Regions from separate parts of the Homo sapiens genome. Here regions 2, 3, 4 and 5 are each linked to region 1. The links are contacts of gene promoters, found by promoter capture Hi-C in blood cells and fetal thymus (Javierre and others, 2016). All regions are on one chromosome and are shown on one strand. Each heading gives the region's core, a stretch centred on a gene start or on the middle of the fragment in contact. The rest is flanking DNA. Distances are from core to core; before and after follow the strand shown. Region 1 holds the start of RAB35 (RAB35, member RAS oncogene family). Region 2 holds the start of TRA-TGC3-2 (tRNA-Ala (anticodon TGC) 3-2). Region 3 overlaps ZNF664-RFLNA (ZNF664-RFLNA readthrough). Region 4 overlaps KMT5A (lysine methyltransferase 5A). Region 5 holds the start of MPHOSPH9 (M-phase phosphoprotein 9).

Evidence for each region. Contacts are between HindIII fragments. The CHiCAGO score rates a contact against its expected background, and 5 or more counts as called.
Region 2: a fragment that was not itself captured here is called in contact with the fragment with the promoter of RAB35 in region 1 in 1 of 17 cell types (M0 macrophages); the score reaches 5.5 in M0 macrophages.
Region 3: a contact is called between a fragment that was not itself captured here and the fragment with the promoter of RAB35 in region 1, in 1 of 17 cell types (naive B cells). The highest score is 7.3, in naive B cells.
Region 4: a contact is called between a fragment that was not itself captured here and the fragment with the promoter of RAB35 in region 1, in 1 of 17 cell types (monocytes). The highest score is 5.1, in monocytes.
Region 5: a contact is called between the fragment with the promoter of MPHOSPH9 here and the fragment with the promoter of RAB35 in region 1, in 1 of 17 cell types (total B cells). The highest score is 5.8, in total B cells.

Annotation. Positions count from the first base shown.
Region 1 is chr12:120,114,168-120,119,254 of GRCh38, forward strand. RAB35 (RAB35, member RAS oncogene family) reads right to left here and starts at 2,586. Exons shown (of 6, transcript NM_006861.7): 1 at 2,432-2,586. The coding sequence starts at 2,483. RAB35-AS1 (RAB35 antisense RNA 1) reads left to right here and starts at 2,740. Exons shown (of 1, transcript NR_182302.1): 1 at 2,740-4,836. RefSeq lists enhancers at 1,777-2,569, 2,570-3,361, 4,154-4,945, 4,365-4,464, 4,495-4,564 and 1 more and silencers at 2,287-2,416, 2,517-2,826, 2,987-3,336, 3,427-3,486, 3,474-3,652. The HindIII fragment of the contact is 4,184 bases long and covers 377-4,560 here.
Region 2 is chr12:124,918,492-124,923,578 of GRCh38, forward strand. TRA-TGC3-2 (tRNA-Ala (anticodon TGC) 3-2) reads right to left here and starts at 3,335; the gene lies at 3,264-3,335. RefSeq lists a silencer at 563-712, enhancers at 2,541-2,730, 2,566-3,244, 2,811-3,130 and a cis regulatory region at 2,786-2,956. The HindIII fragment of the contact is 6,001 bases long and covers 1-5,087 here.
Region 3 is chr12:123,976,152-123,981,238 of GRCh38, forward strand. All of the region lies in intron 2 of ZNF664-RFLNA (ZNF664-RFLNA readthrough), which reads left to right. All of the region lies in intron 2 of ZNF664 (zinc finger protein 664), which reads left to right. Among named protein-coding and RNA genes, the nearest start is that of ZNF664-RFLNA, 5.5 kb to the left of the region's middle. The HindIII fragment of the contact is 1,601 bases long and covers 2,320-3,920 here.
Region 4 is chr12:123,385,502-123,390,588 of GRCh38, forward strand. It overlaps KMT5A (lysine methyltransferase 5A), which reads left to right. Exons shown (of 8, transcript NM_020382.7): 2 at 3,932-4,053. Among named protein-coding and RNA genes, the nearest start is that of KMT5A, 3.9 kb to the left of the region's middle. RefSeq lists silencers at 3,273-3,632, 4,053-4,162. The HindIII fragment of the contact is 6,467 bases long and covers 1-5,087 here.
Region 5 is chr12:123,230,715-123,235,801 of GRCh38, forward strand. MPHOSPH9 (M-phase phosphoprotein 9) reads right to left here and starts at 2,427. Exons shown (of 24, transcript NM_022782.4): 1 at 2,361-2,427. It overlaps MTRFR (mitochondrial translation release factor in rescue), which reads left to right and starts at 2,722. Exons shown (of 3, transcript NM_152269.5): 1 at 2,722-2,817. RefSeq lists an enhancer at 2,200-2,439. The HindIII fragment of the contact is 1,460 bases long and covers 1,186-2,645 here.

The sequences.
Region 1 (5,087 bases), core at 1,336-3,835:
ACTGCAACTTCCGCCTACCAGGTTCAAGCGATTCTCCTGCCTCAGTCTCCCAAGTAGCTGGGATTACAGGCACATTCCACCATGCCCGGCTACTTTTGTATTTTTAGTAGAGACGAGGTTTCATCATGTTGCCCAAGTTGGTCTCAAACTCCTGTCTTCAGGTGATCTGCCCGCCTTGGCCTCCCAAAGTGATGGGATTACAGGCGTGAGCCACCGCGCCCGGCCTTAAGCCTTAGTTTCCTTATTTGACAAATCACACAGGGGGCGGGTGAGAATAAGCGTCTGTGAAATCGTTCAACATATCTTAAGGAGGCATTCACACAAGGAGCCCAGTTCAGGGGAGTGTGTAATGTCAGTCTCTGGGCTCAGCTGCCAAAGCTTAGTCTGGACTTCCATGGCTACCATCTCCCAGCTTTGAGGATCTCAATGTCGGGAGAAATCAAAGAGCACAGCATCCATCTCCTCTGCACAACCTACGCCTACATGGCTGACCTAGGAGCTAGACCACATAAATCTCGACCCAATGAGTCTTCTCCCACACCTGACTTCGGAGAGAAAAATCAATTCATCACACAAAATGTACTGTGAGAAAGCGGGCCAAACCCATCCCCTGGGCTTTACAGAGGAGAAGAGCCAACAAGCTGCATCTTCCTGCTGAGTTTAGGCTTTTCACTGTTGGATATCAACGCAGAGGTCCAGATGTCTTGCAGAGGGATAAAGGCTCCTGACCACGGCGGGCTGTCACTCCAAAAAGAGAGAAATGGCCCCAGTGCCAGTCCCTCAGAACCCAGGCCAGGGCTGCAAGGAAATCATGTAAAGGAAGAAGCCTCAAGACCCTGAAGAATACCAAAGGCCATCTCCAAGAGAACACTCCAGAGCTTGCCTGGTTTCCCTTCATTCAAACCATAACCAGTCAGTACTCCACCTTTCTACCTCCTTCCCCAACCTCAGTTACTCTTCCATCTCCCTGGTTAGCCCCCAGCTTTCCCCCTTACCTCTCCCCTCCTCCAGCAACCACGGAAACCTCAGCCATCCTTCACCTGATCCAAACCACCAACCACATCTCCATCCAGCTTTAAAAGGGAGGCCAAAACCACCCACTTCCCTGACCTAGCTCTGACATCGCTACCCAACACTCCTACATCCCAAGTCATACCGCTCACTTGATTTGATCCCCTTTCCTTAACAGTCCATGGGCTCTACCACCAGCCTGGCCTCTGCCTCCAATCATAAGACATCCCTCCCCACACTCAGCTCAGGTCTGGTCTACAAACTGAGCATGCTCCCAAGACTCTTTCATGAACATCATATAACCCCAGCACCTCAGTTTCGCTCCCATAAACCTTCTGGGGCCTGCCTTCCTGACCTCTTGGTCACTCCATAAACCTGCTCACCTGCCACACTCCAAACAGCTCTAAAACCCTCCACCTTTTCCCAGAAACCAGTCTACCTTTTCGAAGGACACTTAATATTCATTAATTCCTTCTGCAAATATGTCTTAAGCATGTACTGGGTGCCAGGCACTGTTCTAGGCACTGGAGCTAGAGCAGTGATCAGAGCTAGGAGCCCTCAAGCAGTGTGTGTGTGTGGCCAAAGCACTTTTATAATTTTGGCTGTCCCATCCCCAGGACCCCTCTGTATATAGTAGTGTAACAGCAAACAGTGACAACTCACTATGTGCCAGGAGCTGTGAGCAACACTGCAGAATCTCACTTAATACTCACATCAACCCCATAAGGCAGATCCAACTATCATTCCATCTTACAGATGAGGAAACTGAACCACGCAGGGATATAATAATTCAGCAGGAATATGCCAGACCCTGTGCAAAGCCCTTTATCCGACTTACCTCATTTAAACCTCACGGCAATCCCATGAGGCAGGTTCTGAGAACGTCCTCATTTTAGATGGGAAGAAACTGACGCTTATAAAGGATACTGATGATAATGACAATAGTGAACATTTACTTCGAGCTTACTTTACCGGGTAGGGCGCTACGCACTTTTCCTACTTTATCCCATCGAATCCTCACACCACCCAGCAAGGCACATCCCCACTTCTCAGATGAGGGAACTGAGGCTCAGGACGGCGAAGCAACTTGCCCAAGGTCAGCGCGAGGCAGGTGGTAGTCCTGAGACTCGAACCCACGTCTCTCCAACTCCAGAGATCGCGCGACTTGACCAAGGTCACACGTGAGGCAGGAACAGGCGCGATGACTGGACCCGGCGCGCTTGGCCCCTCCGCCCCGCGCCCCAACCTCCCCTCGGCGCGGTCCGGAGCCCCTCGGCGCACCCCTGGGGCCCAGACCGCCGGGCTGCCCCGCCCGCCCGCCCCGCACGGGCCGGCACCTCCCCGCCCGCCTGCCGCCCCGAGGCCCCCGCGGGCCGCGCCCGGCAGGGCCCGCGCCGCCTCCGGCCGCTGCGGCCCTCACCGCTGTCGCCGATGATGAGCAGCTTGAAGAGGTGGTCGTAGTCCCGGGCCATGGCGGGCGGGGGCGGTGCGCGCGGGCGGGCGGGGTCGGTACTGGCCTCGCGATCCGCAGCTCCCTTCGGGCTGCTCCGGCAGCGGCGGATCCACTTCCCGAACAAACAGCCGGAACTGACAGAAACACCTCCCTCCGCTCCCCCTCCTCCTCCTCAGCAGCCGCCGCCGCTACCACCGCCTCCCTCCTTCCCGCCCCGCCCCACCACTGCGCAGGCGCAGCGTCTGGCACCGCCTTGCGCAGCCGCAGCCTGAGCCGGCCGCGCCCGGGTCGCGCACGCGCCCTGACGGAGTCCCAGCAAGCGCGGGCCCGTCTTCCTCGCGTCTCCTCGGGGAGCGTCGTCGCCGCCACCCTGGGCGCTGAGAGCTTGCGGAGCCGAGCCGCTGTCGAGTCCCAGCGGAAAGAAGCCCAAGGTGCCGGAGAAGCCCGGTCGTGGACGTTGTTGCTCCCTCATCTTCGAGACCCGCACGCCCTGCGGAGAGGAAATGACAGGCACGCCGCGACCGTGGGGCGGGGCTCGCACGAGCTCCGGGTTTCCAGAGGCAGGGGCCGGGGCCGTAGAAGGCAGAGTCGCGCGGGGAAGGCCCGGTACCCCGCCCCTTCCGCACCGACCCCTCCCCCGCGGAGCTGGCCCCGGCCCCGGGCCTGTGGAGTGGACGCCGAGGGCGGCGGGCGGCTTCCGAGTTGGACAGAACGGGAGCTGCCGGCGGGAGCAGAGCTGCGAGGAGGTGGCCTTTGAGGGCAGCGCGGGGTCGAAATCCCATCCCAGCGCTGTGACCTCTTGGAGCCCACATTGCCTCTTTGGTGGAGGGGAGGGAGTGGTCCAGCTCCGAGCCGAGCCTGGGAGCTGAATGACCCAGTGTGCAAGGCGCACCTCGGAGACCGAAAGCAACCGCTCCCCCGGCTTCAATTTCACACCACCTGCAGATACACGTCTCAGAATCTGCGGCTAGGAAGACCTGGGCCGCCAGAAGCTAAACGTGTGCATTTTGTCATCAGCCCCGGTTTCTCGTTTTAGAGTGAGTTCCCACCTGCCCTACCTAAACTGACCTGAAACGGAAAGTTGTATGCCCCCACGACCATCCTCACTGCAGAACTGCAGAGGGTTTTAAGCTCCTTATTACCTGTTTCTTATAATCCTGTCCCTTTCCAGGCGAGTATTTATCGGATAGTTCTACTTGTTTTATCAAACTTCCTTTTCTTTTGACTTTATAAAAAGCAATGCCGGGAGGCTGAGGCGGGAGAATCGCTTGAACCCGGGAGGCGGAGGTTGCAGTGAGCTGAGATCTCGCCATTGCACTCCATTCTGGGCAACAAGAGCGAAACTCCGTCTCAAAAAAAAAAAACAATGTTCGTCCTTAAAATTATGTGCAGAAGTTTACTGAAAAGTACAAGTTACTATTTTTCCTTCTGAAGCACTCCTCACAGGTAACCCCTGTTAGTTTCACAGGTAACCTTAAAATGCTTAACACATATTTGTTGAATGAATAAGTGCCCCCCAGTGAATTTCCTTTGCCTGTACAAACATATATGTACATACCTTGCTTTTTCTATTTAACAGTACACTTTTATCATTTAACATCTGCGTGGTATGGTACTCCATCCGATAACCATCGGATGTACTATTATTTAACCACTCCGCTATTAATAGACATTCATGCTGTTTATATTTTTTGGTTATAATAAACATTGTTGCAGGCGGGATCATTGAACAACACATGGAGTGTCTGACTCAAGCCTTGAGTTGTTTTTCCGGGAGCTGAGAATCAGTGTGGTGATATCGAAATAACATGAGCTTGGAATCTGAAGGTACTGGCTAGGGAGAAGAGCTGCTCATGTGCTCCCGATAGAAAGTCCCCCTTGGTCGGGAAGGTTAGGGCCATCCTCTGACTCAGCAGTTTTAGGAAATAGAGGGGGAGAAGGAAGGTATGTACCTTCCTTCCACCAGGGAGGCACGCCCAGCCCTAACCAGCCAGCGAGGCAGTAGGTCCTCCTAGCTCATCTTCACAACCTGGGCTGGTGTCGGGAAGACTTTCGTTCCAATGCTAGCTTTGGAATCCTGGCCTCCATCCCTTAAAAGCTTTGTGATCTTAGGTAAGTCACATCACACTATCTCAAAGCCCCCGTTTCCTCACAGAATGGTTGTTTTAGAGTTATGTTTGTAAATTACCTGGCACATGTAGGCATGTGACAGACTGTAACCAATGTTACTCAAGGTCATTTTGCACTGATTCATACTTTGAGCCATTTCCTACTGTAGACTCTAGCACACATTTTCAAGGCAGCTTCCTGATAATAAGGCTGTAGGATATTTTTGGGAAATAAATCCAAATTGGCCATTAAAACCAGATTCCTGACTTTGCCTGCATGTGTCATCTGGAAAGCAATCGGCATAAATTCCTTCATTTCTTTGGTAACTATTTAATGAGTGTTTATGTGCCACGGATTGCAGAGGTTATAAGAAGAGAGCCTTAGGCCGGGCGCTGTGGCTCACACCCATAATCCCAGCACTTTGGGAGGCTGAGGCGGGAGGATCACGAGGTCAGGAGTTCAAGACCAGCCTGGCCAAGATGGTGAAACCCCATCTCTACTAAAAATAAAAAAA
Region 2 (5,087 bases), core at 1,452-3,951, 4.8 Mb after region 1:
CACACCTAATTTTTGCATTTTTTGTAGAGAGGAGGGTTTCGCACTTTGGGAGGCTGAGGCCGGTGGATCACCTGAGGTCAGGTGTTCGAGACCAACCTGTCCAACATGCTGAAACTCCATCTCTACTAAAAATACAAAAATTATCAGGTGTGGTAGCTCACGCCTGTAATCCCAGCTACTCCAGAGGCTGAGGCAGGAGAATCACTTGAGCCCTGAAGTCAGAGGTTGCAGTGAGTCGAGATCGTGCCACTGCACTCCAGCCTGGGTGACAGTGAGACTCTGTCTCCAAAAAATAAAATAAGAGATGGGGGTTTCACCATGTTGCCCAGGCTGGTCTTGAACTCCTGGGCTCAAGTGATCCTTCTGCCCTGGCCTCCCACAGGGCTGGGAATACAGACATGAGCTAATGTGCCTGGCTGAAATATTTAATTATAAGGTACAAAGTAATGTCATATAAGTGTGGGGTCATAGTAAGAAATAAAAAATAAAAATAAAAAATATTGAAAAAAATAGCCAGGCATGGTGGCCTACACGTGTAATCCCAGCATTTTTGGGAGGCCAACGTGAGAGGGTCACTTCAGCCCAGGAGTTAAACACCAGCTGAGCTACATGGTGAAACCCTGTCTCTACCAAAACAAACAAACAAAAATTAGCCAGGCGGTGGTGCATGCCTGTAGTTCCAGCTGCTCAGGAGGATGAGGTGGGAGGATCACTTGAGCCCAGGAGTTTGAGGCTGCAGTGAGCTGTGATTGCACCACAGCACTCCAGCCTGGGCAACAGAAACAGACCCTGTCTCAAGCAAAATAAATAAATAAATAAACAAAAGAAGAAACAAAGTAAAACAGAAGTGAAACTGCCTTTGCAAAAGTCATAACAGAAAATTATTACAGTGAAAGAGATCTGACCTCACTGACTCCATCTCGCGTCTAACCTCCAAACTGTCTTTGTTCATTCCTAGGTGTAGGCTGAACTGACTTTGGAGGAGCTTAGTTTATAGTTTAATTCTGAAACAAAGGTGATAGCCTTTTCCTAAAACAAGCCCCCTTCCTGCCTGCGCACTAGACTGCTTTGCAGGACTAACAAATTGGCCACAAGATTACAAATTATGGTTTAGGAGTCACGCAGCTGGAGACTGCAAGATTCTGTCCATGCTGAAATTGCTCCTGAGGATAACATCACTATTGTAAAACCTAAGACCAGTGCTTGAGATATTTTGCATACTCTGCACTCAGTGGGCCGACTGACACCACCCAGATTGATAAACTGGCTCATCTGGTCTTGTGGCCCCCACCTAGGAACTGACTCAGGGCAAAGGGACAGCTTCGACTCCCTGTGATTTCATCTCCGACCCAACCAATCAGTACTCCCGATTTCCCGACCTCCCTACACACCAAATTATCCTTCAAAACTCCAATCCCTGAGTTTTCAGGGAGACTGATTTGAGTAATAGTAAAACTCCCGTCTCCCACACTGCCAGCTGTGTGTGAATTAAACGTTCTCTATTATGGCAGGGCGAGGTGGCTTGCGCCTGTAATCCCAGCACTTCGGGAGGCTGAGGTGGGCGGATCACAGTTTCCCTGTCCTAATAAATGGGCTCTGTCTAGGCAGCGGGCAAGGAGAAACTGTTGGGCAGTTACAGAAGCATGTAAGTTTTGTGTTAGGCCTGATGACTTCAGAAATTATCTTCAATGATTTTCCCCTAAAACCTTGTTGACATTTAGGGAGAAATAACCTTTCCTGAAGCTCATTAGAAACAAGCTGTCACCAATGCGTCACCACCTAACTGGTGAGTCAGTTCGCAAGTTTCATTTTCTTCATCTCAAAAATGAAAGCTCTAGATCTAGGATTAGACGCTTTTACCATTTAAAACATGAAGTCAAGTCAAATGAAAGAAAGGGGCTGACAGGTGAGGAATTCATTATAATTGCAAAGAACTGTACCACAGAATGCAGCCGAATCCCTTCTTTCATTCTTATTATTATTTAGAGAGCTGGGAACTGGTTAAACTTTAAAAAATATAATTTATTTTTATGTATTTATTTTTGCCTAAAGATCATTCATGCAAGTAAATCAATCTCCCCTCCCCTCCCCTTCCCCTTTCCCTCCCCTTCCCCTTCCTTTCCTTTCCTTTCCTTTCCGAGCCAAGGTCTCCCTTTGTTGCCCAGGCTGCTTTCAAACTCCTGGCCTCAAGCAATTCTCCTGCCTCATGCCTCCCAAAGTGCTGGGATTACAGGCCTGAGCCACCATCTTTTGCTTTCAGTGATAAAACACAGAAACACAGTGGAGGTGAAAGCAACTCCATCTTGGTTGCTAATCCACCAAGATAACTTCCGATTAATGCCTCTTCCAGGAAGGTCTCTAAGATTTCTACTTTACTGTTACCATAAATTCTGCCCTTAGATCAGAACAACCTAGATCATAAATCCTTCCCTTATGCGGATTCACATAACATTCTTGCCTTGCTTGAGGGGTCAACTTCAATTGTCCTACATATATTCCTTCCCTATGGTATGGAAGCCCTGGGCCGGGGGTTATGGCGCAGCAAACCTTATATCCTCTGATGACCACCCTGAGACTATGGCTTCTGTTGGTAAGTCCCTAATAAATGTTTTTTCCTGAGAAACTGGGTTTGTCAACCCCTTTCTTTGGCCTCTCAGCTCCCTTGGCCTTTGGGGTAGGTTTGCATAGGCCTGCTCACCCCGGAACACAGTGTATGAATATAAATGTAAATTGCACTTGCATTACAGCCGTGGAGACGTGTTGCTGAGGAAGCAGAGAGCAAAGCCCCGCTGGGATGTGAGTTTGCTTCTGGGTTCCTCCCATGCAAATGAGGTGGTTCGTGGCAGTGCAGAGGAGGAGTGAGATGGCAAACAGGGGGGCCCAGACCTTCCAGCAACTTACACACTTGCCCTCTGATGGCCAAGAATGCGTCAACAGCCCTCGAGGCCAGTGCAGTACAATCATGGTGGCACGAGATGTGGTGTACACTCCCCAAATGATCATCCTGCTCACTTTTGCTGTGGTTTCAGTCATCAAGTCAGGTTTTGCCTTAACACTTTTCTGCTGATTACTCCCATCAGCCTCTTCTAACTCATGTGCATTTGAAACATTAGAGATTTCAGAATGGGAAGATCACACCTGGTGTGAGAATCTGAGCTCCAAGTAGTGCCTGGAATCACAATGCTTATGATAATCACATCCATGGCACTTTAATGATAAAGAACCACGGACCAAAACGAATACAGAAAGCAACAAAACTACAATGGAGATGCCGGGGATCGAACCCGGGGCCTCATACATGCAAAGCATGCGCTCTACCACTGAGCTACATCCCCCTCCCTTTCCTGTACTTGCTTTTGGAAGTCCTTGCTATACTCTATTCTTAAAGGCGTTTTTCCTGTTTCCACGTGTTTCATTTTTATTTTTGGTTTTTATTATTGTTTGGACGCATAACAATTGTGCACATTTATGAGGTGTGGTGTGATGTTGTGATCTATGTACACAATTTGTAATGTTCAAATCAGGGCAATGACCACATCCATCCCTTCAAACATGTATCATTTCTCTGTGCTGGGAGACATTAAAAATCCACGCTTCCAGCTATTTGAAAACGTACAATAAGTTGTTGTATTCACTCTATAGGGACACTGGAACTTATTCCTCCTATTCAGCTGTACTTTTGTATCCAGTAACCCCCCTTTGGCTATCCCACCTCCCCCCACCTTCACTACCTGCAGTAACCACTATTCTCTCTGTGAGACCAACTATTTCAGCTTCCGCACGTGAGTGAGATCATGCAGTATTTATCTTTCTGTGCCCGGTTTATTTCACTTTATGTAATGTCGCCCAAACTTAGCCATGTTTTTATTTTTGTTTCGTAGAGGAAAAATGACAGGATTTCATTTTGTTTTGTATTTTTTTAAGGTCGAATAGTATTCTATTGCGTATGTACACATTTTCTCTATCCATGTATCTGTTGACGGACACATCTAGGCACTTATGAATAAAGCTGCAATACACACGGGAGTGCGAGAGGCTTTTAGTTTTTGGTTGGTTGGTTTGTTTTGAGACAGAGTTTTGCTCTGTCGCCCAGGCTGGAGTGCAGTGGCATGATCTGGGCTCACTGCAACCTCCGCCTCCTGGGTTCAAGCGATTCTCCTGCCTCAGCCTCCCGAGTAGCTGGGACTACAGGCGTGCACCACCACGCCTGCTAATTTCTGTATTTTTAGTAGAGATGGGGGGGGGTTCAGCATGTTGGCCAGGCTGGTCTCGAACTCCTGACCTCAGGTGATCTGCACCCCTTGGCCTCCCAAAGTGCTGGGATTACAGGCGTGAGCCACTGCGCCCAGCCAAGGATATTTTCTAAATTAAACTTTTGTGTGTTTAAGTGAGTGTTAGAGTTTAGCAAAACCACCACAACAACAAAAAATTGTTTTATGTTTCCCAAGTAGGTTAGCTCTTCATAACCTTGCAACTAAAATTCTAGCGGATACCAGAACCAAGGAACAAATGTAAACTGACCCATTCTTAAATGTTCCTCTTCACAGACAGAAGAGAAGAGAAGGAAAATCGAGTTTCTTTCCAACAAATAAGGGCATTGGCTTGATTGTACCTTCACCCAGAAACCTCTGATTTCTCATCCTTTAAAACCATACCAACCTTCAGTGACTTTGAGGTTTGCATATCAGCTGGAAGACATTTTTTCCTCCCAAAAGAACTATTATGGCCGTGCGCCATGGCTCATGCCTGTAATCCCAGCACTTTGAGAGGTAGAGGTCGGCGGATCACTTGAGGCCAAGAGTTTGAGACCAGCCTGGCCAACATGGCGTGAACCCCGTCTCTACCAAAAATACAAAAAATTAGCCGGATGTGGTGGCGAGCGCTTGTAGTCCCAGCTACTCGGGAGGCTAAGGCGAGAGGATTTTTGGAGCCCAGGAGGCAGTGGTTGCAGTAAGCCAAGATCATCCCACAGCACGCCAGCCTGGGAGACAGAGGGAGACCACATCTAAAAAAAAAAAAAAAAAAAAAAAATCCGTCTGAATATAAATATCAGCAAACTGAAAAGAAACATATCCACTTCCCAGAAT
Region 3 (5,087 bases), core at 1,870-4,369, 3.9 Mb after region 1:
AACACAATCACAACTACACGTATGATCACAAACTGGTATCTGCTGTGAAAGTTAAGAAGCACCTGCTATGAGGGAGTATAAAAAAGGGGAGACCAAATTTTAGAGTGGAGAGAAGGGGCCTAGGAAAGACTTTTCTGTATAAATAAGATTTAAGCTGAGATTTGAAGAGTGCGTAGGTGTTAGTGTGGAGGAAAGTGGGGGATAATTTTCCAGGCAGAGGAACAGCATGTGGGAAGGCCTCAAAGTGGGGAAAAAGCTTTGCCCATTCCAGGAACTGAAAGAATGAATGTGGATAGACTATGGAGGTGAAGGGGAAGAGTGGCTAGGCCAGGGGCCAGATCAAGTAGGGTCATGTAGGGCAGGTTAAAGTGGTTGTATTTTATCCCGAGTGAAATGGGAAACCATGATATGGGTTGGGATTTACGAAGAGGAGTGACATAATCAGATTTGTATCTTTAAACAGCCACTCTAGTCGTTGCATGCAAGATGTGGGGGCGTGTTGGGGGTGGAGAGTAGAAGTGGGGAGACCAGGTTGGCCATCTCAGAGGGCTGCCTGGAAGAGACGTGAGCTTTCCCTTGGAATTCACATTGACCTCACGTTACCAGCTACACTAAGGTCAAATCAATGTTTGATTAAAAAAAAAAAAGATCCTGGCCATGCACAGTGGCTCACACCTGTAATCCCAGCACTTTGGGAGGCAGGTGGATCATGAGGTCAGGAGACCGAGACCATCCTGGCTAACACGGTGAAACCCTGTCTCTACTAAAAATACAAAAAATTAGCTGGGCGTGGTGGCAGGCACCCGTATTCCCAGCTACTCGGGAGGCTGAGGCAGGAGAATGGCGTGAACCCGGGAGGTGGAGCTTGCAGTGAGCGGAGATCATGCCACTGCACTCCAGCCTGGGCAACAGAGGGAGACTGTCTCACAAAACAAACAAAACCCCCACAAATCCTTGTTTCTAATTTTTAAGAAGTGGGGATAAATAAAAGCAATAAAAAGGTACTTGGTATGCAAAAAGTACACATAAATGTTAAACTAGTTGTCTATACTTAAAAGTATCAGAGAGTCAAATTAAAAATTGGGACATTATTTAACAAGGTTTGTATGTTTTGACAAAGCGGTAATATGTGAGATAGGAGTGAAGTGAGGCTCTAAAATGAAGGGAAATATTTGTAGATGCTATTGACTATGAAAACAATAACAAAAATTATTAGACAAAAAAATTGATGGAGTGACCATGTATTAGTATATGTATAAAATTAATAGCTTTCTGAATACCAGAAATAACCTACTAGAACCTAAAATGGCCAAAAAAAAAAAAAAAAAACCCTAAACAAGAAACTGGCTCTGACCAGGTTGCAGCAAAACAAGTGAACCGTGTAGGCACAACCTTATAGAGTCAAGTGTGCACTCTGTGGAGGAGACCATAAAGTATCCTGAAAGGTCTGAAGGGGTACCTTGAACGGAAAGAGAGGCCATCTTCCGGGCTGTGATGTCTGCATGTTATGGAGATGCTCATTTTGGGGTGAACGTGGTAGAATACTTATGAGTAATGAGGTGAGACAAATATATTTAAACATATTATAGAGCCACATTCATTAAAACAGTATCGTTCTGGCTGTAAAATATCCATACAGGTCAATGGAACTTATTCAGCACCCCAGAAATAAACTTTTTTATATGGAAATGTCATAAATAATAATGAAATCATCACAAATGCCCCCTGAGTCTAAAGAAAATGTAAGTAAATATTAAACATCTGGAAAGAGGAGTTTTACATGCTAAGGTGGATGGAGCACATGCTTTAGACTCAGATGTGTCTAAACTGGAATCTTTTAAGTGAGGAAAATTATCCCCACTTTGCAGGTGTTATGAGAGTAAGAGATAAAGGGCCAGGCACCTACAGGGCACTCAAATCTGTAAGTAGCTGCTGCTATTAGAAACAATAGAGAAAATAATAATTAAAAATTAGTGTATTAGACTACATAAAAATTTATTCTTTAGGAAGAGAAGGGAAAAAAAAAACCCGAATCATAAAGTGGAAAATATTTGTGGCAAATGATAAGCTAAGAGTTAGTATTTTCAATATGCAAAGAACTCATCCAAATTGGTGAAGAAAATAATGAAGATCCACACACAGGTGGTTATAGGATGTGAATAGACAGTTCGCTGGATAGAAATATAACTTGTGAAACATTGGAAAAGCTGTGTAATTCATTAATAATCAAATCACTAATTACCGTATAGAAAAGTTAGATTCTGTTCTGAATAGCAGCAAAACTAGAAAACATTTACAAGTAAGACATAAATGTACCAAAGCTTTATGAAGAGAAGTAAAAACTTTTACCTAAATGATTTAAAAGCTAACCTAAATAAATGGGCAGACTTGTTCCTGGAGGGGAAGGCATCATTGTAGATTGCAGTACCTCCAAATTAAACTATGATTTCAATGTAATTACAATTGAAATCCCAGTGGGAATTCTTCTGGACACTAGATAAATTGCTTCTAAAACTCTTTTATAGGAGTAAATGTCCTAGAATGGCCAAAAAATGACAAACGTTTTTAATGGAAAAGTAGTGTTGGGGGATTTGCTATATGAGAAGTCAAAGCATACTGAAATGCTGCAGTAATATAAATGGTGAACACAAGAATAGACAGATTGACGCCTGGAGCAAAGTAGAATCCAGTAACAGACCCATTTTTATATCAGAATTTAGTATATGATAAAGTTGGTGTTTTGCAACAGTTGGGAAATTATAATTCAGTGTGTTGTATAGGGATAAGTGGCTCTTTATTTAGAAAGAAAGATCCTACTTCACATTCAAAATAACTTAGATGGATTAAGGAACTAACTAAAAAAACCTATAAAAGCATTAGAAGGAAATATAAGAGAATTTGTTATGTAGAAGGATACACTGGAAATGATGTGTTTTAGGTAGGCCATTTAGGTAAGACCAAGACCTAAAATCATAAATGAAAGGATTGATAAATTTGACTATAATCACAGTTGATAATTCTGTGACAAAAAGCGTTACAGAGTGACAGACTGGGAAAACAACCTGTAGCATGTATAAAGAATAAATAGAATTAACAAATTAGGTAATGAATTGAGGATATGAATAGTTCTTAGATAAATGTGTTCAAACAGTGAAGAGAAATTCAACCTCATTGTGATTAAGAGAATGGAAATTTAAAAACTAGATTTTTTTGTTGGGAGGAGGGCATCAGGCAAAAATTAAAAACTATCCAGCGATGTAAAAGAGGCACCTAATACATTGTTGGGACATAAAATTTTTCCAAGTTTTTAGATGGCAATTTTGGCAGAATTTTATCAAAATAAAAGTACACGTTGATTTAGCAGCTACACTTCAAGGAATCTGTGCTATTTTCATAGGAGAACATACGTTAATATAAACAATGTCTATTGCAGCGTCATTTATAATGAAAAATTGAAGATAATCACAATAAATTTTGGTACCCATATACTGTGGAATATCAAGTAGCGTTTTGTTTTTTGTGGGATTTTTTGTTTGTTTTGTTTTGAGACAGGGTCTTGCTCTGTTGCCTAGGCTGGAGTGCAGTGGTACGGAATGTGGTTCAGTGTAGCCTCAGCCTCCTGGGCTCAAGTGATCTGCCTCAGCCTCTCAAGTAGCTGGGACCACACACACACACACACACCACTACACCTGGCTGATTTTTAAATTTTTTTTGTAGAGACGGAGTCTCACCACGTTACCCAGGCCAGTCTTGAACTCCTGGCCTCAAGTGATCCTCCCGCCTTGGCCTCCCAAAGTGTTGGGATTACAGGCATGAGCCACCATGTCTAGCCTATTAGTTTTTTATATAGAGAGGTAGATTTGTATGTACTGACATAGCCTGTATGGATGTCTAGAATATACTGTTGAGCCAAAAAAGCAAGCTTAATCTCATTTTTTGTAAGATACAAAACAAAATAATGAAGGGTGAGTGTGTGTATATATATATATTCTGAATAAGAATTAGAAAAAGACTAGAATACCTGAAAACATTTAATTCTGATTACTTCATGGGAAAAGCCTAGGGGAGACTGGTTTTTCATATCACATGTGTTTGCATTGCTTCAGTTTTTTTTACAATGGGCATTTACTTTTGTAAGGAAGATGTTACAATTTCTCACCAATTTCATGAAGGTCTAGATTTAGACAAAAATATACAGTGCCTAGTACCTAAAAGGATGTGGTAAAAATGACACACTCTTATGTTACATTGGCCATATGTGTCAAGAGTCTTAAAATTATTTACATTTCTTGATGGTCTAGGAACCATCAAAAGAATATTTTTAAATACAGAGAAAAGCTTTCTGCACAAAATATGTATATTGTAGAATTATATTTATGGGCACAGTTTGCAGAATGGTTATGATACATCCCCTATATCATATATTTAGTGGCAAATAACATTGCCATTAAAAACGTTTATGAAGAAAATATATTAAAATGCTTATGATAGTGTTAAGTGGAAGGAAATCAGGATACACAATTGTATACCTGATATGATGAAAACGCCCCAAAAAAAGTCCCAGCAGCCTTCCAGTAAAACCTATGAATGGCAAAAATATGTAGAAGAAATTAGATGGAAATCTTAAGAATTGTGGAATTCGGTAGGATGTCGGGTGATTTAAATAATCTTTTTTGTATTTGCCAAGATTACATGTACCTGTATTACATGTATGATGGAACATTTGATTTAACAAAGTATATCTGGGACATGATAGCTACATGGCAAATAGACATGAGCACTTTTTTTTTTGGTTAAAGCCAATGAATAAATTTGGAATTTACACTGAAAATGATTGGGACCCATTGAAAACTTGTGAGTAGGGTAAGAACAATCCATTTTGCATTTTAGAAGGTTACATTAGAGTAGATAATGGATTAGAGGGAAGCAAGACTGGAGGCTTTTGTAGAATTCCAGGGAAGATGATGGTGGCTTGAGTTAAGTTGAGACAATGCAGGTACACAGTGGAGAGTTTCCAGAGGTATTTGGAAGAGAGTGGCTAGACCTTTGTGATGGGGGGAAGTCAATGATATTGACTTGGGCAATTG
Region 4 (5,087 bases), core at 805-3,304, 3.3 Mb after region 1:
AATTAATATATGAAGAAAACTAACCATCTATCATTGAAATACTTAAAATATGACTAAATAATAATTATGGCCAGGCATGGTGGCTCACACCTGTAATCCTAGCACTTTGGGAGGCCAAGGCGGGCAGATCACCTGAGGTCGGGAGTTCGAGACCAGTCTGACCAACATGGAGAAATCCCGTCTCTACTAAAAATACAAAATTAGCCGGGCATGGCAGCGCATGCCTGTAATCCCAGCTACTTGGGAGGCTGAGGCAGGGAGAATTGCCTGAACCTGGGAGGTGGAGCTTGCAGTGAGCCGAGATTACGTCACCGCACTCCAGCATGGGCAACAGAGCAAGACTCCATCTCAAAAAAACAAACAAGAACAATAACAAAATAATAATAATTACCACTGAGGGCCAGGCACTTTATTAACTCAATTGATCTTTACAAATTGTTATTCTCATTTTTTGGAAGAGGAAGCGTGAAGTCCAAACTTGCTGTCCAGACTCTAGCTTGGCTGGGTCTTTGCTTGTGCCACCCAACCTCCCTTACTTACCCAAAGCGAAGATAATGTTTGTCAGCTCCTCCCATGGCAGCTTACAAATCACCTATGTAATTATTAGTTATTGATTCTCACTGTCTCACTTGACCCCCAAATTAGTAGTTACCTGTTTCTTAGGCTTTACTGCCCTTGCAAGCTATTAAATTGGATATTTAGATTTAGATTTTTTTTTTTTTTTTTTTTTTTGAGACAGAGTCTCTCTCTGTCACCCAGGCTGGAGTACAGTGGAGTGATTTCAGCCCGCTTCACCCTCCCTCTCCTGTGTTCAAGTGATTCTTGTGCCTCAGCTTCCCAAGTAGCTGGGATTACAGGCACCTGTCACCACACCCAGCTAATTTTTGTATTTTTAGTAGAGACGGGGTTTCGCCATGTTGGCCAGGCTAGTCTTGAACTCCTGACCTCAGGTTATCTGCCCACCTCGGCCTCCCAGAGTGCTGGGATTACAGGCAAAAGCCACCACGCCTGGCCAATATTTAGAATTGTAAATACCAAATCATTTACAGCACTTCAAATGAACAGTCTTTTTCTTCTAGAAAATTGGGCTTTGAACTTGCAATTCACTTTGAGAGCCCTGCTGGGTCACAGAAACAAACTGGTCAGATGCCAGGCAACACCTCACTCATTTTGAAGTTTTATAATCATGCAAATATTTACAACCCCAATATATTAGTCTCAGGGGTCAGTCCACCTACCTTTCACTATTTCTACTGCCATTGTTGAATGGTCTCTTGGTTGGTTGCCCTCCTCATTTTGCCATCTTCAGTTCATTATCCCTTAGCACCTGGTGGGGGGGTCTCCAAAAATACAGACTTTTCTTTTTTTTTGGGAGACAGAGTCTCACTCTGTCACCCAGGATAGAGTGCAGTGGCACAATCTTGGCTCACTGCAAACTCCACCCCCCTGGGTTCAAGTGACTCTCCTGCCTCAGCCTCCCAAGTAGCTGGGATTACAGGCATGCGCAACCACGCCAAGCTAATTTTTGTATTTTTAGTAGAGACGGGGTTTCGCCATGTTGGCCAGGCTGGTCTCAAACTCCTGATTTCAGGTGATTTGCCCTCCTCTGCCTCCCAAGGTGCTGGGATTACAGGTGTGAGCCACTGCGCCCAGCTGGTGTATTTGTTATATACGTATAAACTTGCGGAGAAAGGACTGTTTTGAAACTTACATTGAATGATCTGTATTTACATCTTCTAGGTACTGGAGCTGCAGAATTGAGAGGAATAGGTGCTAGACTTGTAATGTGTCCCCTGCAATTGGGGGCTCAAATGCAGAGAAAGCTATGACCATGAGTGGGGCGTGGGGTGTGGCTCGGTATACTAGAATGTGAAATGGATAAGATGATCTATGTGGGTGCTTCCTGCTCCAAAACCATGATTCTCATGGCAGTTAAGCTGCAAAACTTCTCTGCCTTGCAGAAATAGAAGACGCTTTCAAATGGCTCAACCTGGTTATCAGAGTGTCACTTTCGAATCCTCTTTCACCCTCTGGGTAATCTTTTGGATATTCAACTGTAGTAGGCTCTGCAGAGGGCATAGGCAGAGTACCTAGCCCACTGGAGTTAGTGGTTGGGCTGGAGACCCTGCCTTGAAGGATGCTAAAGCATGAGCTGATTTGGGAGGGATTGTCTGAGCAGTGACCTGTCACCACCTAATCCTACTCAGTCTTATCCGTTCCAATGGGAGTCGAGGGAGGCTAGGTGGGAGGATGGCTACAAACAGCCATTTGCTTATCTGTGGATGTTGGAAGGTGCTCTGGTGGATTATGGAATTCAAGGTTCTTGGTTTTTACCCATGAGGACACTGAGGCCCAGACTGGGGAAGTGACTTGGCGATGGTCACAAAACACCTCTGGGCAGATGCAGGGAAATAAGTCCAGCCCCTGACTCCCAGGCCATGGGCCAGGCTGCAGGAGCTGGATGCCTTGAAGTGTCTTGTTTGCATCTATGACTTTGCACAAATACAGTGAATCTGGCTGTGGGCCCTCAAGCCTTAATGGCCACAGAGTAGTGGTGCAGGGCAGTGAGCTATGCTGAAACAGCCACCAGAGTGACGGGAACCTCGTCTGCCTATGGGGGCATTTTCTCACGGCGGGATAGGAGAACAAGGTGACATGTTAAACCCTTCTGCAAGACCATTTGCTTCTCCCAAACTCCATTTCCTCATCTGTAACCAGGAAGGGTAGTGGCTGGGAGGGCAAGGCCCTGGGGTCAGTTGGCTGGGGCTGAAAACCCATCTAGTTCTGAGAACTTGGCCAAGCTCCTCACTTTCTCCATCTGTTGAAAAGAGATAATAATGGTGTCTACCTTTGCAGGGCTGCTGTGAGGTTTCAGTGAGATAACGGCAAGAGACTCGCCCAGGAAACCGATCATTATAACCCCTGGCTCTGTCTCCCCAGGGCTTCCTACCGGTCAAGTACAGCCCTTCTGGGTTTGACACCTGGCCCCATCACTTCCTAGTTCTGTGGCCCGGGACAAACCCCTGCACATCCCTTGAGTCACAGTGTCACCATTGTAAGCTGGGATGCCGACAGGACCTGCCCCCGTGGGCGTGCGGGGAGGATTCAATGCCTGTGAAACTCTCGGTGGGCACAGCGCCGGGCACACCCGAGGGCCTGGCCTGGCGCGTTCACCGCTGCTGATTTCGTCTGGCACAGACCGGGTTCCCAAAATATCCGCAGAGCCAGCGGAAAAAGGAGCCGGGCGGGCTGGCGGGAGGGCGGGCGGGAGCCTGGGCTGTCATGACGGTGTTTCCCACCCCTTCCTCCGCGAGTGGCTGAGGCCGCGCGAGAGGGGGCGCGCCCGAGCCGGGATTCGCCGCGCCCGCCCGCCCGCCCTCCGGAGCGGCCTGGCGGCGCCGCCCCTACCAGCCCCCTCCCCGGGCCGGGCGCCGGACGGTGGGCGGCTGCGAGCGGGCGGGAGGGCTGCGGAGGACGCGCCGCCTGCGCCTCCTTCCCTTCGTGCCTCGCCCCGGGCGGCCCGGGGCTGCCGCGGTGCGCGGGTGCCGGGCCCTGCCTCGCCGGCCATGGGGGAAGGGGGCGCCGTGGGGCGCCGCCGGCCCTTCCCCGGGGCGCCGCGGCGGCGCTGGTGGCGGCGGCGAGGGCGCGGGGCGCGCCGCCATGGGCCTGGCCGGGCTGCAGGTGGGTGTGTCGGGCCCGGCCGCGCGGGGGGCGGGCGGCGCGCGGGGCCTGGCCGGGCCGGGCGGCGGGAGGGCGACGCGGGCTCCGGCCCGGCCCTCCCGGCTGCGCGGGCGGCTCACCAGAGCCGGGGCCTCGAAATATGGCTGCGGCGGGAGGCGCCGTCGCGGCGCCCGGCCCGGGCGGCCCCGCTCCCCGCCCCGCCGCGCCCTGAGCGCCCCCTCCCCCGCTTCCCCCGGGTCCCCTTCTCCAGGCAGGAAGATGTCCAAGCCCCGCGCGGTGGAGGCGGCGGCGGCGGCGGCGGCGGTGGCAGCGACGGCCCCGGGCCCGGAGATGGTGGAGCGGAGGGGCCCGGGGAGGCCCCGCACCGACGGGGTAAGCAGGCACCCTCCCCGCACCCCTGCGGCGCGCCCGCCGGGCCGGGGCCGCGAGCACATGGGCGACCCCGGGTACCCGCCCGGGGCGCCCGGCCGGGCCGCTTCCTTTGCTGCCGCCTGGCTGGGAGTGGCGCCCACACGGCTCCGCCATGAGCCTGGCGGTGTTTGACCTCGGAAAAGTTTGACTGCGCCTTCGTGGCGTCTCCGCAGCCCAAGACCCTACTTCCCCGGAGGTGGCCGCGGTCCCAGGCTGTGCGGGGCCTGCGCGGGCCCCTCGGAGAGGTCACGGGTCTCACCGCCTCGGTGTTGAATGGTCCCCGAGGCGGCGAGGGCCCGGCGTTGCTTCTGGGGACGCCCTCCTCCGTCTGTACTTACTCAGAGGAGGGGCCCCACGCCCAGAGGCGCCCGCAGTGACCTGAACCGCCCCACCGCCCCGTCCACTCTCTTACTGACGCCCAGGTGCGGCTTGCGACAAAGTGGCCGCCCCGAATGCGCTGGCTGTGGCTCCTGCTCTTCCCAGATTCCCCAGTCACCCTGAGAGAAGTCCTCCCGTCGCAGCCCTGGAGGCTGCGGGGCTGCAGTGATTTGAGAGGGGTCAGGCTCCGGCGCTCATGGGGCTCTGGCTGTGCTGACAGGCCCTCCAGCCGCCCTCAGCACCAAGTGGTTAATCAGGTTCCCCGGGGCGTGTTTCTGTGCTGAGTCCCTGCGGCTCCTGCCAGGGCAGTGAACTCCTAAAGATAGCCTAGCTCTTCACATGCCCAGGTCCTTTTGACCTCCCTGTTGCGGGTAGGCTGTCTTCTTCCTATATAGACCTTGGGTTGCAGCCGACTCTCCTGCTGGCCAGCTGTCCCCTTAGTGATTTAGAGACCAGCGCGTTTAGGAAACGTTTCACTGGACCTGGGATTCTAAACCTGCCAGTGCTCTCCTGAGACAATGGGGGCTGGCATCCCCTGGTAGCCCAGTTTTTGAAAAACGGTGTTGTCTGATTTTCATCTTTTGTATTCCTCCTCCTCGTGAATGCTCTAGGATCTT
Region 5 (5,087 bases), core at 1,177-3,676, 3.1 Mb after region 1:
ATATTCATAGAACAGGATAGGATTCAGCCATAAAAAGACACATGCTACAACATACATGAACACTGAAGATACTATGCTAAGTAAAAAAAGCCAGTCACAAAAGACCACAGACTATATGATTTCATTGATATGAAATATCTTGAATGGGCAAATTCATAGACAAATGGCTGCCAGGAGCTGGGGAAGGAGAGAATGTGAGTGAGTGCAGCTGGTATGGAGTTTCTTTTTGGGGTGATAAAAAATTCTGGAATTAGATAGTGGTGATGGCTGCACAACCTTGTGAACTAAAAACCACTGAATTGTACACTTGTAAAAGACTGAATTTTATGGTATGTGAATTATGTATCTCAATTAAAAATCTACATTAAGGATTATTTGCAAAAGTAGCATCACCTTTTTCAGGTAATATTTCAGATTTTTATATGTTTAATAATCAAGGTTCTTTTTTTTAGAGACAGCATCTTGCTATGTTGCCCAGGCTGGTCTACAACTCCTGGCCTCAAGTGCTCAGCCTCCCGAGCAGCTGGGATTATAGCGCAAACCATTTTGCCAGGCTTTACAATGAAAGTTCTAGATATAATTCTATTATGTAACAATTGGAATACTTGCATGCCTTGTTCATTTGTTTAATAAATTCTACCAAGTATATATGTTTGTTGACTTATACAGAGACAAGAAGAACTGAACTACTTAATATTTAATTTGTATTAAAAAGAGCCAATTAAACTGTTAACAACCATAGCTTCCCCATTGTCTGGAAGTACATTTTGAACTATATATATGGTCTTTTGTCTCTGTGCAGCTATTCTTAGAAAATAAACCACTGGGCACACTGGAGCCTGCCTGCAGCTACTGGGAGCATGTCCCAGCTACTCTGGAGGCTGAGGTGGGAGGATCACTTCAGCCCAGGAGTTCAAGACTGCAGTGAGCTATGATCCTGCCACTGCACTCCAGCTTGGGCAACAGACCAAGACCCCATCTCTTAAAAAATAAAAATAAAAATAAAAAAATTATTTGCCAGGCCAACTAAAATTTCAGTGAAGCTGGATATATACCATGGCAAATTGGCTGTAACAGGTCAAACAAGATGCCTCCTTCCTGGGGAATTCATGCACTTATAAAAGAGCAAGGGAGCAAGAGGAAAAAGGAGAAAGAAAGAAAACTTCAGCTGCTTACAAACTGAAAAGCTTAGAGAGTGCAACAGGAATATTATCTAGTATTCCGCTTCTGCTAGATTCCCACTTTCTAGGGCCTGCTTTTATAAAGCATTACACAAAAACAGGGACCATTTCCTTCAGGGACAGGAGTGAATGCAAAGGGTAACCGGACCTAACTAAATGGACTTTTCCCCAGTGGCTCAGCCCATCACCCACGACAAATGGGGCATTGAAACAGTCAAGGACTGCCCCTTCCAACTGGCAACAGAAATACCTGGATTCCAATCACCATGCTATTACACCAGGAAAACACAAGCTCTCCAGGGAGATGAACCTGCAACCCCATCTATTATTTCCCCTGCTAAGGTAATCCGGATCCGGATGCAGATCCAGATGGAAAACCACTAGAAATTCAAAGATGCTTCTCCATTTGGGGTGGAGGTGCTGGGGGGAGGGCAGGGAAGTAAGAGGGAAAAATCCTTAAACACCCACAAATACAATGCAAAAAAAAATTTTTTTAACTTGATACAGAATGAATATAAGAGCAGAGCTTTTATATTTCCCAGCAACAAGATATGACGCTTTTGGTGTCCCTACCCCCTAGCAAAAAAAGGGAGCTGGGGAAAAGGAACGATTGATGGTTATGAAACATGAAAGTTAACTGGGCGCTCCGCCTTGACGGGAGGCTTGGGGGAGAGGAAGAGATTTCAGATGGGGATGAGGCCAGATCCCGACATTCTGAGCTCACAGTCAGCCCGCAATGGCTGGTGGCGGCTATCGGGTCAAAGTGGGAAGGAGAGGGAGAATCTATGCAGTCGCCTAAGCTACGGAAAGCAGGGAGGACGGAGAAAAGCCACCGCTCCTGCAACTACAACCGCGATTCCAAAAGGAAACCGGGGCACCTTGGCAAAAAATGGGGGGAAAAATTAAAAAAACCCCACAAACCCCCCGCCCCTCAGGAAGAGCGATCTGCGATTGGGCCGCGCGAGTGTCACTCAAGGGCGCCGAGTCTAGAAAAGGCGCACCGCGGCCGGGCAGAGCTCCCACACGCCGAAGGGCTCCGAGGGGGTCAGGCCAATCGGCAGCCGTCACCCCACACCCCAGCCCATCACCACACTCAAGGGGCCGCTAAGACAGTGTCTCCTAAGTCTCGTCTCCTGTCCCCAGCGGCCTACAGCTCCCTGCAGGCTGGTGGCCGCTTACCTGGCCGCCGCTCCCGCTGCCGATGTCAGGGTCATGCAAGCGGCCTCTCGCGACCGTTACCCGAGGGAGCGCGCGCGCGCCCGGCGTCTCTCCAGTGATTGGCTGCCCGGAAGGAGGCGGAGACAGCCTCGCATGGCGCGCGCGTCCACCTCGCCGTTCCCCCTCGCGCAGCTCCAACCAAAGAGAGACATCCAACCCCGGGGGAGTGACAAGGGGGCGGGATTGCTGTGAAACTCTCTTCTCTGATTGGCTCTCTGGGAGCCAGCCGCTGCCACGAGGGAAAGAAGCTTCAGTTTCTCGCATGCGCAGTGAGTAAACATGAGCCTCTGGTAGATAAGAGAAACCGCGATCGGAGTACGGCGCGTGCGCAGATCAGGGATCGCGATTGCGAATCCTCCGCTGAGGTGATTTGGATATCCCTAGAACGTTGAGGGCACGAGTCGGGTCCTGAGACCAGGTAAGCATCTGCGGAGAAGCCAGGTAACCCTACGGCTGCCGACGACTGTCAAAGGCTCCGGAGAGAGGACTGCGAGCCGGGACGCCTGGGTTTTTCCCGACTTGCGACCCCGAGTGGCGCAGCCAGTTTACCTGAGGCCGCGCTGGCGGTGGGGTGGGGCCGGCCGTGACACCCGAGCTCAGTTTTCTCGGGACCTGGTTTACGCTAGGTGCTGTGGGTCGGCCCTGGGGCTGTTCAGGCACTCAGGGCAGGGGAGAGGAGAGACTACCGTCCTGGAGATAACGGTTCCACGGAGGCCCAAGGCGAAACGGAAGGATCCTCATGTACAAAACTGAGCGGAATGGAGCTGTGAGCACGCATCAGGTGCTGTTTCAGGCCTGGCACGTAGTAGAGGTCAGCACTGCCCTTGCTAGGCTTTTGCGGAGATACTCGTTTTTTTTTTAATAGACGTGGGGTGGGGGGGTCTCACTGTGTTGCCCAAGCTGATCTCGAACTCCTGGCCTCAAGCGATCCTCCTTCCTCGGCCTCCCAAAGTGCTGGGATCACAGGCGCAAGCCACCCAGCCCTACTTTTGAAGGACCAAAGGGAACTCGCTCTCCTCCCCGTGGGACCCCAGCCCATTTCATGCGCACTGTGCAGGCCACATTCTTCAGCATAGTTAACCTTTAAGGTCTTTCCAGCTACTCGATTTACCTCCAGGAGTTCTGGCTCACAGTAAAGGGACTTCCCTGGCACTATCACTTAGGCCTCCACAACCCAGGAAATGGATCTGCCCTTGGAATAACAGATCTGCCAGGAGGCGTTACATCTCATTGGAGCTTCCTAAGTATACCTACCAATTTTTTTTTACTTTTTTTATTTTTGTGGGGGAGGGGGGTAGGGGGGACAAGGTCTCTCTCTGTCACCCAGGCTGGAGGGCAGTGGCGCGATCTCGGCTCACTTTAACCTCTGCCTCCCGGGTTCAAGTGATTCTTCTGCTTCAGCCTCCCGAGTAGCCGGGAATACCGGTGCCCGCCACCACATCCGGCTAATTTTTTGTATTTTTAGTAGAGACGGGGTTTTGCCATATTGGCCAGGCTGGTCTCGAATTCCTGACCTCAGGTCATCCTCCTGCCTCGGCCACCCAAAGTGCTGGGATTACAGGCATGAGCCACCACGCCTGGCAATTTTCAAAGGGTAAATTTGATGTTATCCTATCTTTCATGATTTTTTAAATTATATTACATAATTCCAAAAGATATTTTATGTTTAAACCAGGACTTACTTCATTGAAGATGGTTTTATCTTTCAGTGTGAACCTGCTGGGAAGTCAGGCTATATTTTTGGCATCACAGTGATCTCCTTAGTACCTGATTTCACAGACCAGAATTATGATCCCACCAAATAACATGTTTTCAGTAATGTCATGGCTTATCAAGTACTTCTTAAATTGGACCATACCAAGTAAAATAATTTACAAGCCACTGTTGTAGATGCCTTTTCACCCTAAGCTCTAAAACAAAGGCCGATGAAATAATCAGTTCCCAGACTGGGTTTGTGTCATAAGACAACAGTGTATGTGGTGTGTCATTCCAAAGTTCCTCAGCCTTGTAGTTGAGAGATCTGACATGCTCCCATTTAGTGACCACTAAGTACTTTACATTTATGGCAACATGTATGATTTTGTTCGCACTCTAGGTAGTAGTATCTCCATTCTACAGATGAGGAATTAGAGCCAAAGTTACCCAGTAAGTAAATTGTGGCATTGAGACATTGAACGCAGGTCTGTTGGCCACAGAGCTCGCAATCCTTGGCAGGAAGGCCTTTTTGGGACAAAAGAAAAAATGAGAGGAGTCGTCAAATACAGAAAGTCAGGCTGGTCCAAACGTAGTGAGTTTTGTGTGTGTGTGTGTGACAGAGCTCAGCTCACTGCAAGCTCCGCCCCCCAGGTTCACGCCATTCTCCTGCCTTAGCCTCCCTAGTAGCTGAGACTACAGGTGCCTGCCACCAGGCCCAGCTAATTTTTTTTTTTTTTGTATTTTTAGTAGAGATGGGGTTTCACCGTGTTAGCCAGGTTGGTCTCGATCTCCTGACCTCATGATCCACCTGCCTCGGCCTCCCACGGTGCTGGGATTACAGGCGTGAGCCACCGCGCTCGGCCTGGTAGTGAGTTATCTTAATTAATTGTTCACAGTCACAGATCAAACTTCTTGTTCTACTCTTTCCCCCTTCTCTACTGTACTTGACTAGTCTTTTTAAAAAGAGAAAGTTGGCCGGGCGTGGTGGCTCAT